4 separate regions of the Homo sapiens genome follow, and all the other regions are linked to region 3. The links are contacts of gene promoters, found by promoter capture Hi-C in blood cells and fetal thymus (Javierre and others, 2016). All regions are on one chromosome and are shown on one strand. The core of a region is centred on a gene start or on the middle of the fragment in contact, and the rest is flanking DNA. Distances in the headings are between cores, read along the strand shown. Region 1 overlaps ENPEP (glutamyl aminopeptidase). Region 2 overlaps ENPEP (glutamyl aminopeptidase). Region 3 holds the start of ELOVL6 (ELOVL fatty acid elongase 6). Region 4 overlaps ENPEP (glutamyl aminopeptidase).

Region 1 (2,940 bases), core at 312-2,811, 290 kb after region 3:
TCAGCAAATATCTGAGCACGAGTCTGTTTTTCATTAGGAGATTGCAGTACTCTGAAATATTATGGTCAGCATGATGTGTTTAGTGTAGACAGATAAACTCCTATTTAACTGATAGTCCACTCAAAATTTTATTTCTCCCTGAAAAACCTGATACAGTGTGTAATTCAGTCAGTCTTTAACAGTTCTAAAAACAAAGTAAATTTTCCTGTAGTCTTTTCAACATCACCACAAACAATTTGACCTCTAAGCTTTGACAAAGGACTTCTGGCTAGAAAGCAAGGTTTGGGGCAACCGTTTATTTGTTTGTCTTGCATATATATGATTGATATTTTGATCGATAAAAGTTTATCTTTTCTTTTCAATAGAAAGAAGAGTCAGTGGATGATAAATGGACTCGAACAACTTTTGAGAAGTCTGTCCCCATGAGCACGTACCTGGTGTGCTTTGCTGTACATCAATTTGACTCTGTAAAGAGAATATCAAATAGTGGAAAACCTGTGAGTCTCATTATATTTTAAAAATTTACCACCTATGCATTTGTAATTAATTATCTACCTTTTTTGGGTAGTTTTTTTTTTTTTTTTTCAAACAACATGCCTGAAAAGCCCTTTAGTCCCCAGGGTCTGTGGACTTGATAATACATAGAAAAATGTAGGCTGAAAGGATACAGGTAAAAAATAAACCAACACAACAGACATAGATATTTATGGCCTTAAATTATTTCAAGGGAAACATGTGCTGTAAGTCAAAAGCTAGCTCCTAAGTATACCAGCACAAATATATTAAAATGTTTGGGTATGCCCAATGTAATAAAATGTTTGGGTATATGTGTACCTCTCCCAGATATAGACTAGAGAGAGAGGAGGAAACCTGAGGTAAAGGAACATCCTTCGAATGACAAGGCACTGAAAAGTTTATGGCTCCATTCCTATATGTAATCAAAATAGGTAGCAACAAAGTATCCAAAAGCATTTTTTAAAAGTATGATAAAATATAAATAAGCTTTTTTTAAAAATATCAAGACGACTAGTTCAATAGTTTTCTTTCTTTCTTTTTTTTTTTTTTTTTTTTGAGACGGAGTCTGGCTCTGTCACCCAGGCTAGGGTGCAGTGACACGATCTCAGCTCACTGCAACCTCCACCTCCCGGGTTCAAGTGATTCTCTTGCCTCAGCCTCCTGAGTAGCTGGGACTACAGGCACCCGCCACCACGCCTGGCTAATTTTTGTATTTTTAGTAGAGACGGGGTTTCACCATATTGGCCAGCCTTGTCTCTAACTCCTGACCTCAGGTGACCCACTGGCCTTGGCCCCCTGAAGTGCTGGGATTACAGGCATGAGCCACCGAGCCTGGCCCAATCGTTTTCTTTTGAAGAACCACATACTTTTACCTAATTAATTTTTTCATTTTGGAGGCCCCCATTTTGCTTATATCCTGAACATATGTTTAGGTTGTCTAGTAAGCCAGTTAATTCACCTCTGTGCCATATATGTCATATATATAAAGCCTCATCATCTTTGCAATATAATTTTATAAGGAGGAAATCATCACCCCCATTTTAGAGATGAGAAAAATTGAAGTTTAATAAATTTAGGCTATTTATTCAAGATTACCCAGCTGGCAAGTGGTAGAAACTTAAATTCCAAACTCCTTCCAGATACTGTATCTTGCTTAGCCTTCTGATGTGTGATATTCTGAAAATATCTTTACCTCTTCATCAGTCACTGGAGGAGAGGGGATGGGTTCCTCTATTTCTGTGAAATGAACAAAGGGAAAATTTGCCTTTGCTTTGGTGTGGTAGGAGTTGATATTCAGATGTCCTCAACCTGGGTTGCCAGCATGCTGCCTATACCGTATACAAATTATAGCGAGTGGGGGATGTCCACAGACCTTTTCAAAGGGGCTGCATATCATGAGGACTCATCCGTATTCTAACTTTTCCTTGACACATAGGTTGCTTTGATGCAACCTTCAGTCGTGGTAAAGGGAACTACTAGTGGCTGATAGATAATACTGGTATGAAAAGGAAATGGCATCAGAAATAGGAAGTTGTTTTTTCTAGATTGTGCTGAGTGCAGTCGATGGCATTCCTCTTGCTTAATATAGAGGTGAGAACATTAGTCAAGCTTGGTTTTTTCTTTCCGTCTCATAACAAACATGCAATTTTCATCTGAAGCTGCTTTCTTCATCATTGACAATTCAATTGCATGACTGTCTTTCATCATGTGCAGGTGTTTCCCATACCAAGTTTTAAAAATTATTATTACATTCTGAGCAAATTTTTCTATTTGAGGTAGAAATACCAAGAGGAAACAGAAAGGCTAAGCAATTGTACTAAAGATGACAAAGTCTCATAGGTAAGAACAATGCATTTAACCAATCAGCAGAGGACATAGTACTTGGAGTTATTTTCTAATAGTGACAGTGAGCTTGAATTTCCAATATGACTCTATCACCAGGTCCTCTGACCAAGGACATTTACTTGTAATATTATACTAACTAGGTAAATCACTAGAGCCTGTACCAGTTAGTTAGCTGGGTTCTTAGGATGGATTTTATATAAAGGATTTGAAGTGATATAATGAAAAAATACAGTTTTGCAAAAGATCCCAAAATGTCCTGTAGGTGGTAATTATTTCTTAAATGGTTCTTCTATGAAAACTAAGAGCATAACATTTTGTTTTAAATAAGTGATGCATTCCATCATTTGGGAGGGAAACAAACATAATATTGTTTTAATACATTACTGTCCAATCATCTATTTTATAAGAGATCAACAGAAGCCAAATTCCCTTTTGAAACTTCTCAGAGGCTCTGAGCCAGAAAAATTACAAGAAAATGAGATATGCCACTTTCCCCTTCCTCCAACCCTTCCATAGAAGACAGGCAGCCAGAGTTTCCCCTCCTGAAAAAACAGTGGGGCCGTTTCCTTTAAAAGTTGA
Region 2 (2,969 bases), core at 470-2,969, 310 kb after region 3:
AAGGGGAATGCAAAATTCTCTGCATGGGAATGGCTGTGGCTCAGAGCAAGCTTGTAGATGCTGCATGTCTCTTCAATGGATACAATTCTATTTTTTGATTGCTTAACAAATGTTAGAGAAGGAGCTGGAAAAAGAAACAAGTTTTCATCAAAATCAGAATATTGGGCCAGGTGCAGTGGCTCACGCCTGTAATCCCAACATTTTGGGAGGCCCAGGCGGGCGGATCGCTTGAGCCCAGAGGTTCAAGACCAGCCTGGCAACATGGTGAAACCCCATCGCTACAAGAAATACAAAAATTAGCCAGGTGTTGTGGCACACACCTGTAGTCTCAGCTACTCAGGAGGCTGAGGTGGGAGGATCACTTGAGCCCAGGAGGTTGAGGCTGCAGTGAGCCATGATTGTGTCACTGCAGTCTAGGTGACAGAAGACCTCATCTCAATTTAAAAATATCAGAATAATATTTAATAAAATATTGTACACATGAATTTAAAGATCCTTTGCCTTTTATCTCAGTTGTAGCACCCAGGATAACCTGAGAAGTGGAAATCTCACAAATTTATTACTCTCTTCTCCTCTCTTTCTTTCTCCCTCTCCCCAACTCCTTTATTCTGTTTTATGTGCATTTTCAACCCTCTCAGAATTAATTATATCTTAGACTCCTTAGAGGTGACTTCTGCATTTATTAGACTCCAAAGAGTTAAATATACAAGAATTAGTTAGTTACAATGCCAGTACTGACCAAAAAAAAAAAAAAAAAAATGAGATTGCAAAAAATTCCTTTTGTTCAAGGATTAAGTGCAAACTGCACTCCACAACATTATGAAAAATATTGGCCCTTGGGGGAGATACTTCTCTACTTTTGAAATGACTGTCTTGTGATAAAATAACCAAACCTAAAAATGAGATAACATGAAAAGGAAACTACTATTGTAATCTTGACCTCTACTTAAGATACATCCCTCTTCATTCTTTTATAAAAAGCTCTAAGAATATTTATTTTGGCTGGGTGCGGTGGCTCACGCCTGTAATCCCAGCACTTTGGGAGGCCGAGGCGGGTGGATCACGAGGTCAGGAGATGGAGACCATCCTGGCTAACACGGTGAATCCCCGTCTCTACTAAAAATTCAAAAAATTAGCCAGGCGCGGTGGCGGGCGCCTGTAGTCCCAGCTACTCAGGAGGCCGAGGCTGGAGAATGGCGTGAACCCAGGAGGCAGAGCTTGCAGTGAGCCGAGATCGCACCACTGCCCTCCAGTTTGGGCAACAGAGCGAGACTCTGTCTCAAAAAAAAAGAAAGAATATTTATTTTAACCAGAAAGAAAGGGCCTTCTCTTATATGTTAAGTGAAAAATCAATTTGTTTTCATTTCTGTGCCTCATTTAAATTATACATAATAATAAAGAAATTACATTCTGTTTACAGTTCATTAACTGGGGAAGCTGTATTTTGGCCACTAATCATCTGAGCATTTTCTGTCTTGGGATTTAACATAGAACTGATCAACACTGCCTCCTCCTGTCAGATATTATGTGTAAGACTATAGAAACTCCTGTCCAACATTTTAGAACTGTAAGGGAATCTAGAGAGAATATAGTCAACTCCATGTTTCTCCAACCAATTTAATACATAAAAGCGGATGATAAGCTATTAGATTGGTATTTCTATCAATATTTTATAGAATTAGAGAAAAATGGAGTTTTATATTCTTGAATAATCTGTGTCTTTGGATGGAAAACTGTATCTATACACTTGGAAGCTCAGAACTTCTAAATACTAATTTGAAAACTTCTCTTTTTCCTCACGGCTTATCCCCTAAAACACATGTAGCTAATAAAAATGAAATACAGAGAGAAACAAAAGACATAAAATTATAGAGGCATTGCCATTAGTGTCCTTCTTTAAAACAAAAACAAAGCATTGATATCTGGAGCCAGCAGGGAATGCTCTATGGAAACTTTGAGTGCATTAGGACTGAAATGTTCGCACACATGATTACAGTTCTTTACTCTAAGAAATTATTTTTAGGCTTTTAAAAAACATTCATCCAAATAACTTAATTTGGTAAGAAAAGCTATGAACAAATGGAAAGAATGTATTTCTCACTGGACTCTTTCTTCTTCTATAGATAAAATCGCTATTCCAGATTTTGGCACTGGTGCCATGGAGAACTGGGGACTCATCACGTACAGAGAAACGAACCTGCTTTATGACCCTAAGGAATCAGCCTCATCAAACCAACAGAGGGTGGCCACTGTGGTTGCCCATGAACTTGTGCATCAGGTACAGAATCTTAGCACTGAATCAGCTTGTTTTTTTAAAGTGGCTTAAGACCACAGGAATAATTCAAATTATTTATGACTTAGCAAATAAAAAATAGCCAACTCAGAAAAACTTGCATGAAAATCTTTCTTGGTACTAATAAACATTTAGCCATAAAGAGACTTTGAACCACATTGTTTTGCCTTTAGGAAATATGCACGAGGCCTTCATATAAATTTATGTACCCCAGTAATAACTAAATAAAGGCAATAAACTAAAGACAATTTAATATCATTTAAATAATCAGAATAAAGCAGGAAATAAATGTTAAGTACAATGCCTGCCACTTCTGTCACAGTGACAACATTGGCACGGACAAATAAATGTTTTGACATTTTCTAGGCCTCTCTACCATACCCATAAGAATGTAATTATCTCTTTATTGCTTATAATTTCAGTGGTTTGGAAATATTGTGACCATGGACTGGTGGGAAGACTTGTGGCTAAATGAAGGATTTGCTTCTTTCTTTGAGTTTCTGGGAGTAAACCATGCAGAAACAGACTGGCAAATGGTGAGTCCTAAACACATAAACTTGAAATCTCTCTTTTCCTCATGCAAAGCAGATGGAAGCCTTTGGACTATGATAATGGTCCCGAGTCAGATGGCAAGTACAGTGGTGAGCGGGGAATTCCACTGTGAGGATAGGGTGGA
Region 3 (3,114 bases), core at 341-2,840:
ACAGGCGCGCCGGCGTTTCTGGTTTCCAGTTGAAGAGGGCAGGCGGGAGGGCGCGGGGCACGCGCGCTCGCGCACGCGGCGGGCGGAATCCCCCGGCTCCCGGGAGACCCTGCGGCCCGACCCTCCCCGGTCAAGCCATCCCCCGGGCTGCCGGCCCCTTGCCTAGCTCCGGGGTGCGTTGGGCTTGAACTTTACAGATCGCCAGACCCGAAGTTAAGGGGAGGAGAGGAATGCCTCTGCCACAACCCTGTCTACAAGAAGCGAGATGAGCACACCCTCCTCTGTTAAATATTGCAAGGTGACACTGGATCGCCTCCCACACAGGGATTTTCAAAAGGTCTGGCGGGGGGACTACAGTAAACAAGAAAGGTGTTTTCCCTGATTATTAGTTTCCTAGGGAAGAGCCCCTAAGGACTCTGCAGACGGAGGGGCTTTTAATCTGTGTGCCTGAACTCCAATCAGCAGCTACGCACAGAATTAGAAGTGTGTCCAAAAGGCGTTTCCGTAAAACAGAAACTTAATAATGGCGTGGCTCCACTCGCTCGGGTTCATTCATTTATTACTGTTTTCATTGTCCCCTCCTCCCTCCCACCCGGTCTCTCTATGAAACCGGAAAGGGAACCGCGTGGGGAAAGGGGTACTAAAAAGGGGGCATCCGCCTGAGGAGCGGCAGACAGAGGAGGACGGTGAAGTAGGAGCGCTGCAAGGAGAAAGGAAGGACACGAGGGATGGAGAGACAGCGAGGACCAGGGCCAAGGGCGGCGGGCGGGAGAGGGTTAAAGGCAACAGGAGACAAGGTCCTCCCTCCACTGCCTTTCACACTCCGGTTGCGGGAGAGGCCAAGCGAGAAAACCCAAATCTAGATGAAAACCGGGGGAGGGGAGGGGAGCACAGGTAGGCGATCTGGACTGTGGCATCTCTCCCGCCTTCCCTGTCGCGCAGACATCACCCTGTGCACACACATATGTTCTGTGTTATATAATCTATATAAAAGATGCCTATGTAGCCGCGGTTCACACAGGGGCACCCACAGACCTCGCGCTTCATGTACCCCCCCCCCCCCAGCGTCTCCTGCACCCGGGAGACCCGAGAACTCAGCGATCAGCTGGCTGCCCGCGATTCATCGCTCCATTCACGCCCAGGCAGGGAATACCGACATTAAGGCACTCCGGGAAGACGCGCAGGGCTCCCGGGAACAGTATCAGGCGAAAGCATCACGTACCAGTTTTCCTGCATCCATTGGATGGCTTCATTCTCGTTGAACTGCTTTTCGAATTCATATTCTTGTAAAGTCAACACTGACATGTTCATTGGGGCTGATCTTCGGAGTCGCTACGTGTTCTCTATACAAAATAAAATAATCTGTAAAGCGCTTGATTTCGAGTGTTCTCCTGTCTGCTTCCCCCACCCACCCCCCTAGGTCTTCCCCACGCCGCTCGGTCTCCAGCGGTCGTCTCTTCTCCCAGCCTCTCAGCTACATCCAGGGCTGAGCATTGCCTGCGCCTCCGCTCCCAGCTCCTCTCTCTGGGGCTCTCCTCCTCCCGGCGTCCGCATCCACCGTAGGAGGAAATGAATGCCTTGCGGTCTTAGTGCCCGCACGTTTGTCCATCACCCTTTTTACTCGTCTACAGGGAAATCTCCTCCCCCTCGTGCGATTTGAGAAATTAACCCTTGGCGAGGGAGTGTGCGAAAGAGCGCGACCTCTCTCCGCCCGGGGGGGACAGTTTTGTTTACAGCGAAGGTGGTTGGAAGAGTGGGGGAAGGGCGCAGAGAGAAAGGAAGTGGCCTGGAGGTCATCCAGATCCCCTAAGCCCAACCTCGTGGGCCGCCTTGCTTTGAATGAAGTTTCAGCTTGCAGGGCGCATCCCCGCGGCGCGTGGACCCGAGAGCTTGGCGAGTAAACGATTGGGAAATAGTAAAACCTGCCAGCTCTCTTGCAAGAGAACTCCGGGCAAATCTACGTTGAGATCACCAGTGAAGGGAATACGCTTCCCACCTCCTCGCCCTACCTCTGGGACCACCCCCACCCCTACCCCCACCCCCACCCGGGAGCTCTGGCTTAGATTCACGCTAACCCAGGCCCTGCGGACGGCAGAGCTCCTTAATCTCGTACAGACAGGGGATGCTGAGTGTGAGGATAGTGGATAGGCGAGAGAGGCTAGTAGCCGGAAGTGGAAGAAAGGGCTGGGTTAGGTGGAGGGTTTAGGTACCGGGAAGGGGGGGATTAATGAACAGAGGCAGAGTGGGGAAGGAAGCTGACAGGAGAACTGGACCGACTGGCCAAATGCAAAAACTTTATTTGCATGCATGAGAAATTTGGCTTTACTTGCTGTACTTGTAGGTAGAACAGAATATGTGAGGAGAGGGCTGAATGTACTGTTGACCCCTACTGGGCCCTCAGCCTCCAAGAGGAAAAACTATTTTCTATTCCATCCATCCCTCCACTCATTTCCCCCAAGAGTTTGGAAAAATGAAATATGAGACATGGAAGTATCTAATGATGTAATTGTAAACTTTACAAAATAATAAGGAGCCCTGCTTTTAAAAATTAGGTGGATATTAGGACCAGAAAGAAAATTCCCCTTCTGAGAACATCCCCCCACCTCCCCAGTAGTCCAAAAAGGGTACTTTCATTCAATTTAGATGCCTCTAACCCACAAAAAGTGGGAACTGGGAGAAAAATTTTTAAAGGAGGAAGGGACCGGCCGCGGTGGTGGCTCACAGAAGTAATCCCAGCACTTTGGGAGGCCGAGGTGGGCGGATCACCTGAGGTCAGGAGTTCAAAACAGCCTGGCCAACATGGTGAAACTCCGTCTCTACTAAAAATATAAAAATCAGGCAGGCGTGGTGGCGGGCACCTGTAACCTCAGCTACTCAGGAGGCTGAGGCAGGAGAATCGCTTGAACCCGTGAGGTAGAGGTTGCAGTGAGCCAAAATTCTGCCACTGCACTCCAGCCTGGGCGACAGAGGGAGACTCTGTCTCCAAACAAACAAACAAAAAAAAAAAAGAGGAAGGTCTAATGAGAAAGTAAAGAAATAATTTTTAAAATCCAGTACAATATATAGATTAAAGGGCTAGCCTAGTTGATTAGCAAATTAATGTATACATTGACA
Region 4 (3,182 bases), core at 397-2,896, 340 kb after region 3:
TGTAATCATCACCACAGTCAGTTTTAGAAACCCCATACCCTTTAGCTGTCATGCCTGCAGCCTCCCATATGCCCAGCCCTAAGCAACCACTAATGTATTCCCTACCTCTATAGATTTGTCTCTTCTGGTCATTTCACATAAATAAAAGTGTATATGCAGTATTTTGTGACTTTTCAATTAGCATAACGATTTCAAGGCTCATCCATGATATAGCATGTAACTCTACTTCATTCCTTTTTATTGCCAAATCATATCCCATTATATGGATATACCACCATTTGTTTATCCATTTATCAGTTGATAGATATTTGGATCATTTCCACCTTTTGTCTGTTATGAATAATGCTGCTATAAACATTTGTGTATAAGTTTTTCTGTGGATCCAGCATGTTTTTTCCACCTTTGGGCCTTTTAAAAAAAAACGTTTATTGTTAACAGTTTTTGTGATTTTTTTTTACTATTACTACAAACTACCAGCTTTGTCATTATAGAGGTGAAATCCTTCTGAAGCCCTTCTGCACAGGGATTGCTATTACAACAAAACTCTCTCTTGCTTATTTATGTTAATAATTATTGTAATATCGTGATCAAAAAAAATTCTAAATTTTTGCAGAATTCCCAGATCAATGCCACTTTGTTTTAGTATTTTATGCTGTGTTTCAATGCGAGGCTCTATCTTTTGTGGTCTTCTGACCATTTTCTTATTCATAAGTACACTTGCCAGAGGAAAAGGGAGAAGACAGAAAAAAAAAAGACATTTTCAACAATGTGTAACAGCACTGGTAAAAGACATAATAAGAACGTTAGAATTCCACTGGAAGGTTTTCAGTGGATTTGGTTTAACTATTACTAAATATTTTCCCCATTGGTCACCATAGTTAATTGAGGATTGGAAGAATATCTCGGCAGCTGTTTGATTTACTGTTTACAAGTTTGAAAGCGTGAATAATTCATCTACCCTAGTACAATTCACCCAGCACTTTCATGGAATGAAGTTTCCATACAAGTGAATTTTCCAGATAACTAAAGCTTACTCAAGTGCTTTGTAAAATGCATTTCAAGAGTTCACAATAGACATTGTTCTAATATGTGTTATGTACTCCTTAGAATATTTGGAATAATAAATTTAATCCTTAATTACTAGATTAATTCTTTCAAGCACGTATTGCTTATGTGCAAAACACAGAGATAAGAATGGGGGCAGTGCTGGAGCAAAAAAAAAAAAAAAAAGCAATCCTAACCCTTGTGTAGATGGTTGTCTAGGGATGGGTTTGCAGGCAGACATAATGCTGTGTCCTAAGTGCCTCTGTGGCAATGCAGATCACCAAAAGCACTCATAGAAGCATCAGCCCAGGTTTGGGGGTTCAGGAAGCATTCCTAAAAAATATCTAGGCTGAGAGTTCAGAGGCTAAGGATAGAGTATAAATGGGTGATAAAAATTGAATGTAGAGGAGACGTGTGCTCTGGACAGAAGCATGACTGTGAAAGTGAAAGAGCAGGGAGTTCTCACACTCCTTCGTATCCCTTTGTCAATACATTTCACACATTTTTTTGTTCTAACTATTGACCTATCTATGTCTCCCCTCCCCACAGAATATTCTTAGAGGAAATGGAGCTTATTTGTTATTGTTGTTCTGGATCTACAGCAGGCATCTAATAATTGTTTATTGAATAAATGAATGAATAAACAAATAAATGAAGAGGCTGATAGTTACAGAGCTTTGATGACAAATCTGCCTTTATCTGAAACTTCAGAATCATGTCTGGTCACTGAGCCAGAAGCAAACTAGAGGTCTTTTTCTACTTCAAAGTGTCTGCTCCATTTTTAGGCTGTACAATAAGTTCCTGTTTCCTGTTTAAGGACATCTTCAGCTCTCAGCTTAGAGCACGGATGACGAACATGTCCTGAGTGTACTAAATGGGCAACCAGCTCATGTTACCAGTCCTACCTCCCTCCTCTTGGTTTCTTTGATGATTCATTAGTTAGAAATTCTTCAGGCAATAGTGGGACTCTCCCCAAGGTCTTTTATTTACATTTCTATTGTATGTGCTATTTTAGGCGTTAAAACAACAACTAAACTCATAATTTCTAATGAAAGAAGAGAACCTCTATTATAAAACATTTTCTGGCTACTCCAGTTACCCTGAATAATCTCTCCTGTCATCATCTCCTGTCATAAAATATAGTATATTTTATCCTGTCACTTTCATCAGCCCTTATTCCTAGTATTATTACTTTATATTTTAAACAAAATCATTGTTATTAAGCTTCATATGTTCTCTCTTTTCGTTGTTTCTTTTTTTTTTTTTTTTTTTTGGGACAGAGTTTTGTTCTTGTTGCCCAGGCCGGAGTGCAGTGGAGCGATCTCAGCTCATTGCAACGTCCGCCCCCTGGGTTCAAGTGATTCTCCTGCCTCAGCCTCCCATGTAGCTGGGATTACAGGTGCCTGCCACCTCAGCTGGATATTTTTTTGTATTTTTAGTAAGGATGGGGTTTCACAATGTTGGCCAGGCTGGTCTTGAACTCCAGACCTCAGGTGATCTACCTGCCTCAGCCTCCCAAAGTGCTGGGATTATAGGCATGAGCCACCGCGCCTGGCCTCTCTTTTTTTTTTCTCAACTAAATTATAAGCTTCTTGATGACACAAACTACACATATTTCTTGTCTCCTGTCCACCCTATTATCAACAAGGTGCTACGTACATTCTGAGTTCAGAAAGTCCTAGTTTAATGAAGGGTTGTTTGCCCCAGAATGCTGTACTTTTAGAGGTTAACTGCATATATTTTAGTTATGTCTCCATCTTTTAGTATCAGCTGCTATTTTGGCTATTGTTAATGCATCCACATTTAGTAGCATACCACCTGTTTGCATTTAATTTACTGCTTTCTAACATTTAGAAGGATTGAAGGTTGTTATATGGTGTCAGGTAACCAATCTTGCTAAAACATAATATTTTAAAAGAGACATTTCTAAGTGCATAGGATCTGGGCTGGGTCTAAGTTCTAGGAGGTGGTGCGGACTCTACAATAGCTGTTTTTGCAACTCTTACTTCCAGATTTGAGGGTGTCCTCTGGATGGTTTGGACTATCCAGACTGTCCAGTCAGTTTCTATAGAAATAGATTTACTAAACATCTGTGATAATTATACATAAATATTTAATACCAAAATAATGATGGGCAT

The links. The method cuts DNA at HindIII sites, captures the fragments that hold promoters and counts their contacts. A CHiCAGO score of 5 or more calls a contact.
Region 1: a contact is called between a fragment that was not itself captured here and the fragment with the promoter of ELOVL6 in region 3, in 5 of 17 cell types (M2 macrophages, megakaryocytes, M0 macrophages and 2 more). The highest score is 7.9, in M2 macrophages.
Region 2: a fragment that was not itself captured here is called in contact with the fragment with the promoter of ELOVL6 in region 3 in 15 of 17 cell types (erythroblasts, megakaryocytes, total CD4 T cells and 12 more); the score reaches 13.8 in erythroblasts.
Region 4: a fragment that was not itself captured here is called in contact with the fragment with the promoter of ELOVL6 in region 3 in 2 of 17 cell types (monocytes and total CD4 T cells); the score reaches 5.4 in monocytes.

Annotation. Positions count from the first base shown.
Region 1 is chr4:110,490,668-110,493,607 of GRCh38, forward strand. ENPEP (glutamyl aminopeptidase) reads left to right here. Exons shown (of 20, transcript NM_001977.4): 3 at 366-497. Among named protein-coding and RNA genes, the nearest start is that of ENPEP, 16 kb to the left of the region's middle. The HindIII fragment of the contact is 1,122 bases long and covers 1,001-2,122 here.
Region 2 is chr4:110,507,530-110,510,498 of GRCh38, forward strand. ENPEP (glutamyl aminopeptidase) reads left to right here. Exons shown (of 20, transcript NM_001977.4): 5 at 2,124-2,278; 6 at 2,716-2,829. Among named protein-coding and RNA genes, the nearest start is that of ENPEP, 33 kb to the left of the region's middle. RefSeq lists an enhancer at 1-151. The HindIII fragment of the contact is 3,342 bases long and covers 49-2,969 here.
Region 3 is chr4:110,197,025-110,200,138 of GRCh38, forward strand. It overlaps ELOVL6 (ELOVL fatty acid elongase 6), which reads right to left and starts at 1,591. Exons shown (of 4, transcript NM_024090.3): 1 at 1,223-1,591. The coding sequence starts at 1,311. RefSeq lists a silencer at 1-257 and an enhancer at 1,172-1,964. The HindIII fragment of the contact is 10,784 bases long and covers 1-3,114 here.
Region 4 is chr4:110,532,208-110,535,389 of GRCh38, forward strand. The region is part of intron 11 of ENPEP (glutamyl aminopeptidase); the gene reads left to right. Among named protein-coding and RNA genes, the nearest start is that of ENPEP, 58 kb to the left of the region's middle. The HindIII fragment of the contact is 1,239 bases long and covers 1,028-2,266 here.